Linked DNA regions of Homo sapiens: region 2 is linked to region 1. Evidence: promoter capture Hi-C in human tissues and cell types (Jung and others, 2019). All regions are on one chromosome and are shown on one strand. Each heading gives the region's core, a stretch centred on a gene start or on the middle of the fragment in contact. The rest is flanking DNA. Distances are from core to core; before and after follow the strand shown.

Evidence for each region. The method cuts DNA at HindIII sites, captures the fragments that hold promoters and counts their contacts. A contact is called where the count stands out against the background at its distance.
Region 2: a fragment that was not itself captured here is called in contact with the fragment with the promoter of PHACTR1 in region 1 in 3 of the 25 tissues and cell types used here (dorsolateral prefrontal cortex, hippocampus and spleen).

Annotation. Positions count from the first base shown.
Region 1 is chr6:12,715,221-12,718,520 of GRCh38, forward strand. It overlaps PHACTR1 (phosphatase and actin regulator 1), which reads left to right and starts at 1,547. Exons shown (of 15, transcript NM_030948.6): 1 at 1,547-1,676; 2 at 2,289-2,523. All of the region lies in intron 1 of LOC107984015 (a long non-coding RNA gene), which reads right to left. The HindIII fragment of the contact is 3,467 bases long and covers 1,199-3,300 here.
Region 2 is chr6:12,800,490-12,803,789 of GRCh38, forward strand. The region is part of intron 4 of PHACTR1 (phosphatase and actin regulator 1); the gene reads left to right. Among named protein-coding and RNA genes, the nearest start is that of PHACTR1, 85 kb to the left of the region's middle. The HindIII fragment of the contact is 4,540 bases long and covers 1-3,300 here.

The DNA of each region.
Region 1 (3,300 bases), core at 297-2,796:
CTGGTCTTGAACTCCTAACCTCAGGTGATCCACCCACCTTGACTTCCCATAGTGCTGGGATTACAGACATGAGCCTCTGTGCCCGGCCCCAAATACATTTCTTTAAGTTGAAATTTTCCCTCCTGAGTTTTCTTAAATTACGACCCTTTCATATTATTTGTTCACTTTGTAAAGTATTTTAAATTTCTCTTTCTTGGTCAACTCTCCAGAAATGACTGACTTCCAAATCCACCACCTACCCCCTGGGAATCAACTCTATTTTTCACATTTCCAGTTTAGCATCTCTTTCTTCAATCACACATTCATTTGCACTCACCTAAAGGTTTGGTCAGCAGCATAGACTTATACTCTCTCTCTCTCTCTTTCTCTCATCTATGAGTCATTACAATTTCAGTAGAATTACAATAACGAGTTCAGAACCTGTCGCCCACACCTCACAGTAAGTAAAAGGAACCAGAAGACAGCTTTCTCCTCTTATAAATGTCAAGTGTTCAGCATGTCTCCAGTGGGTGCTGAATAGAAAAGTAACCTTAAAGAAGTCAGTCCTTGGGTTGGAGCAAAGCTTTCAGAATTCAGAGTCCATAGTTGACTTTCCTACAAGGGCATATGATTGGTAGTTTCAGCTTCCTTTTTCATGAGGCTTAACTGTCTGCAGCACCGGCTTGGTGTCTGATCTGTTCTGATCGGGTGGGAGAGGGAGACCCCACAAAACAAACAGCAGAGGATTTTCAGGTTTGTTTCAAGGGCAGCCAGCCGAGCTGTGTATAGGGAGTGGGGGGACAGGGGTGGTGTTGATGGTCTTCCTTCCGAGGCTTATCAAATGTAAATGCTCTTTTCTTAACAAGCTGACCCACTGTACACCACACCATACTAATGAGCAATTCTGCTTGGTCAACAAAGGGTGCAAGAGGTTGTGGAAAACCCACAGTAGGGCTTGCATTTGGCTATCACTATGCCCTGCATGAAGATCTCAAAGTACTGTGCCTAAAAGTCATTACTGAGGTTTGGTAGGAAGAATATTAAACCAGAATAACTTGAGATACTAGCCAAAGTTTATTTTTGTTGTTGGTATTATTTTGTTACATTCAGACAGAGAGAAATGCATTTAGGCAGACTGGCATGATCTGCGCTGGATATTTGACCAGGCAATCAGAAGCAAGGAAAGGAAGAAAGCCAGGCAAGAGGGAAGGGGTGACATCAAACGTGCCCTCTGTATTTCGCTCCAGAAAACAGCTCACAATTATGACTACCTGCCTTGTTTTGCAGCTCAGCATAAAAGTGGTGTTGCACCAAACCCTACTGGAGCAGCCTTCATGATTAGAAAGTACTCCACACCTTGGAGAGCTGAGGAGACATGAGAATAATTTTAAATGCAAATTAAATTGAGGGGGTAGCAGAGAAGAACACATAAAAGACAGTAAAACAAAACCTTTCAATTTTCTTAAATTAGCAGTCTAATGTGTTCTAAAGAGCAGCTCCACTCAGATCTCTTCTTAAGGGTTGCATTTCATCACAGTATAAATGGGCAAATCCATCACTTCCCTCTGCTCAGTGCTCTTGAAGCGAGATTGAAGGGAAAATTAGAAGCTGTTCATTTGTGCTTGCGGGCTCAGAAGCGTCGCACTGCTTTGTTTTGTACTCTACCGTGTCCTGTTGAAAGGGGTCAACAAGTGCCGGTGAGTATCCGCTAACTTCCAGACTCTTCCTTTCAAATATCTTTTTGGCTAATTTTCCTTTGCCGGGGATGGGGGTTGTGGGGGGAGTGGGGATCTCCCACAAAATCTATGCTATAATATGTCTTTCAGAATCTGGGAAATTTCAGACAGCTTTTTAAGCTTCTTCCAGTGACTGATTTGCAGAAGGGAAGAGTTATTTTCAGCCTAGATGCCGGTGGCTGTTCTGTGTATTAATTATAACAGGGGAATGTCTAACGTATGTTAAGCTAAAATGGCCTTTCCCTAAACTCCCCCATTCCCTGCCACTCTTAGGCCAGCATTAGGGTAATAACTGGTGCCCCCACAAAAATTTCTAGACAACTTTTCTATATATTAAATTTTTAATCATTTCATATTCTATTCTTTTGTAGCTGCAAATCAAACTAAGATTTGGGATTATGAAAATAAACAATGAAGACATAAATCTGTTTTGTTTTTTTTTTAATGACTATGGCACTTCTCTGCCTAAGAGATAGGGGGCTGGGGAATAGCCCTGCATGATGTATGCATGTGGATTTGATGATTTTCTGCCAAAGTTTTACACGGGAAACTGGTAATTTTCTCCCTTCGCAGGGGAGGGTGCAGAGGCTGAGGCTGGCGTCACCTTCCGTTGCTAAGGTAACGTGCTCTGGCCATTTTATCTGATAAAGGAAGTCCAGTGGACTGTATGCATTATTCATCACTGTTCTAATCAAACAATCAAAATCGTTTACTTTCACCGGGAATATTTAGCAAGATCAAAGACACTCTGGCTGGAACGGCTCTTGTTTTACCGCTGACAGATAGCCTTTGATTTTTATTTTTTGCAGTAAGTATATTTGCTATTGGGGTACCTTTGGGTATTTTTAAAAGTTTTGTCTTACCGGACTTGGTTTCTTAAATTAAAATACATACTGTTAGAAAGAGAAACCAATTGGATTAGACTTCCAAGCTTGGTTTTAATGACTTTGTCTTGTTAATTCTTTCCAAAAAAATATTCTGCAGAAATAGAGATAATTCATTTGTGTGAGTATCAGGGAAAGGCTACATAGGCTTGAAAAAAGAACCCAACAGGCTGAATGTTTTCTGGGGAAGTATATTAGCTTTGTGACAGGCTAGTGTATGATAATATAGGGATCACTGTAATGCTGCAATCATTCTTGCTGCTCTACAAACCACAATTGTTTCTCAAAAATCAGCCCCTGCCAGGCACAGGCAGGTGACGATCCTCTAGCACTTTATAAAATGTGCTGAAGGGAATCGCCGGAAAGGAAGGAATTCAAAGCATTTGTACAGCAAATATGTCAGTGTGTGTCATAAACGCACGGCATCTATGAGTGGAGGCTCGGATTCCCAGGCAATTTTCCCTGCTCCAGGGGAATCCGAAAGTCCCAGGATGAGCTGAGGATCAACACTCACAACGGCTGACACTTAATGACGCTATTTATCAAATAGACCTTTTGAAAACTGATAGCATGTGAATTTAACAGTATATGTTCCAGAGAATATAAAGCAAGGAAAGGCTGGTATGTTATCTCTCTTTAGATCAGATCATCTGTTTTTCCTGAGTAGAATATATTACTTTTAATGAATGTTGGCTAAATGC
Region 2 (3,300 bases), core at 513-3,012, 85 kb after region 1:
GTTAAAAGAGTGACTCCTAATTTTAATATGTGTAGAGTTCATTAGGGAAGTCATAATGAAGAGAGTGAGCTATTCGATCTAGAAAATATTGAGTTAAGAAAGTTTGGAAGTTGAAGCCAGGTGCCGTGCCTCATACCTGTAATCCCAGTACTATGGGAGGCCAAGGAGGACAGATTGCTTGAGGACAGGAGTTCAAGACCAGCCTGGGCAACATAGTGAAACCCCAGCTCTACAAAAGTAAAATAAAATTTAGCACAGACTGGTAGCATGTGCCTGTAGTCCCAGCTCTTTGGGAGGCTGAGGTCGGAGGATCACCTGAGCCCTGGAGGTCCAAGGCTACAGTGAGCCCTGATCCTGCCACTGTACTCCAGCCTGGGTGTCACAGTGAGACCCTGTCTCAAAAGAAAAAGAAAAAAAAAAGAAGGAAGATAAAAAGCCAATTTGATTAGTTCATTTTCTAAATGGTGAATTATGCCAATACATTTTTGAGTTTAATAATTTTTTAAATAACATGAAGTTATTGGGAAAACAGTACAGTATATGGTAATTATTTACTGGGATTCTTTAGGGCCTTTGATTTTTGTTCTCAAGATAATAATGCTGAAAATAGATGTAATGATATGTGCCTTAAATTAATCATTTGTATTGGTGAAGTAACTTGGACAAAGATTTAGAGCATGTTAATATATTTTGATAATAATGTAGAAGGGGGAATGTATTATAAAAAGGCTGAAAAGGTCGTTGCAAATGAATCATAGAAGAACACCATCTAACTTGTTGATAAAGCCTCATTGTGCGTGTTAAGTTAGTGAGATGGTCAACAGTGGCCACGTGCCTCCTAGTCTGCCCAGCAGCATTGTTGCCACATACTTGCTTGAGCAAAATGTTGTCAGTACTTCACTACCCAACTATGTATGGCTTGGCCATCTCATTATCAAAAGAATGTAGGCAAACTAGAGCAAGTTCATAAGGGGCCATGAAAGTGATTATAAGGGTTCACACATAAGAATAAAAATAAAAAAGAACAGAATATTCTCACTGCTTGGCTGATAGACTATGACGGGGTATGGATGGCAGAAGGGGGAGGAATTAATTGCAGAGAAGGAGCTAAGAAGTCTGTAGAAGTTTAGGAAGGAAGCATTTAGTAGAATCTTGGGATTTTAAAGCTGTAAGGCATCTTAGAGATCATCTGGAGATTTGGTTGGAATTAATGAGGCTAAATTAAGCTGAGAAAGCTTGACATAAAAAGCAAGAAAAACTGTCTGCAAATGAGAATTATTTAATATAGCTTTATTGAGCAAAGAAGAATCTCTGCCTCAGTTCTTCTCCAATATGTTAGATTCCTAGAATTTGAGGTCCTCTTGCAACATTTCAGCTAATGCCTTTACTCATAGGAATCAGGAATTAGGTTTCCGAGGAGTGACTAAATAAATTGTCAGACATTGTCTTTTGATGACCTTGTTTACCATTACTTATATTGGTGGCCTCATCTGATTCAAATTTAGAAAATTGCATAGGTTTGGTGTGATCATTAAACCTTACATAACCCTTTGAATTTATATGCCCTTTAAGTCATAGGAAAATTGAGCTACATATTATATAAAATAATTTTATTTTATATAATAAATGTACTTTATTATATAAAATAATATGTAGCTCAATTTTCCTATGACTTAAAGGGCATATAAATATAACTGGCATTAATAGCCAGTTAATGCCAAAGGTGATGAGTAGATCTGACTTCCACCTATGCTTTTCTTTTTCCAACATAATAACTTATTGAATAAAACAATTATTTCTTAGTTCTTATAAGTTCATACTCCTCATTGGCAATTTACTATAACGTAAAAGAAAAAGGAACAGTCTTAGGAACAAAAAGCTACACACAAAATTAGTCATTTTTGTGTGCAGGCAAATGGAATATATAATTAGGCTAAAATAAAAGCAGAACAGGAACAAATTAAAACAAGAAAAATGATGTATATACAAGTATCAGAAGAGGAGCAATTAGAGATGACCTGCCAGATCAGAGTGATTCTAAGAAATGTGGAATGTATTTTCTTTATTATACTGAATCTAAAATGCCATCAACCGTAGGATGTACCATTATTTTCTCTGCCACCAAAAAAGAGAAAACCAATTAAACTATGACGCAATGCTTTTTTATCCCATCAAGTACAAGATACATTCTGATTTCTTAAATGCTAAAATGTTTTTACAACTGTGAATTTGGAATCTATAAAATATAAAATTTTAAGCTTAACTCCATAGGAATGGATTACCTCTCTAAGCTCAGTGTTTACGATCTTGATGGAAAGCCCCTTGGCACCCAAGATTCTCGTCTCTATCATTTTATTCCGAGAGAAGACGTTTTAAAAGTGACTGCAAGTTTTGAGTTTGGTTTCCCATTTTAAAAGAAAATCAATTCAGTGTATTCCTTACTCTTGAATGACAAAAGTGGCAAGATAAAAACCCTATGTGAAGATAGCTAATATATGTGGCTTTGTAGAGGAGCCACCTTCCATGATATGATGAAGGTGAACACGTGTGTTAAAATTCCAGGCTGCCATAACTTTTCCCCTTTCAAAGCTTGTGTGTTAAACTGTGATCTGCTGACAAGCCACACTGTCTTATCTGTGCACTGCTCAAGAACTGTGCACTGCTTCTACTTGGTCCTATTATTGTGTCACTTCTTGACAGGTTCTCTTGTTTGAAAGTTCTATGTGTCAACCCCGCTGCGTTCAATAATTCACAGATCTCTGGCACCCTTGAGCCAAAAGCTGAGAGGAGGCTGTGGCAGGACTGAGATTGGTGGTCTCTCTTTTTCACTTCTTCCCCTCTCATCCTTGCACCTGCTCCAGTCCTCTGACTGAGTCCACAGCCCCTCACAGAAAAGGAGGAGGAGACATATTAGGGAAGGTGAGGAAGACTAAAGAACACTCTACAGCAGATTGGGCCTCCCGAAAGGAAGAAGAGGAAATTAAGGGTCACAAAAACGTGCCAAAACCATGCTACTCTCAAGCAGCCTCACCTTACACTATACTTCTTGCACTCTTAGAGTGTAAAATGTACTTGAATAAATAGGACAAAGAAACATTCCTGTTTATTCTTACCAAACAAAGCCACACATATCAGGAATGCAACTATTTCTTTTTTCTAAATTCCTCTAAACTGTGCTGTAATCTAGAGTTTCTCAACTTTGGCACTATTGACATTTTGGGCGGGATAATTATTTGGTGAAGGAGTGGAGCTGCCTCGTGCCTTGCAGGTTATTTAGCAGCATCTCTGGCCTCTACAGAC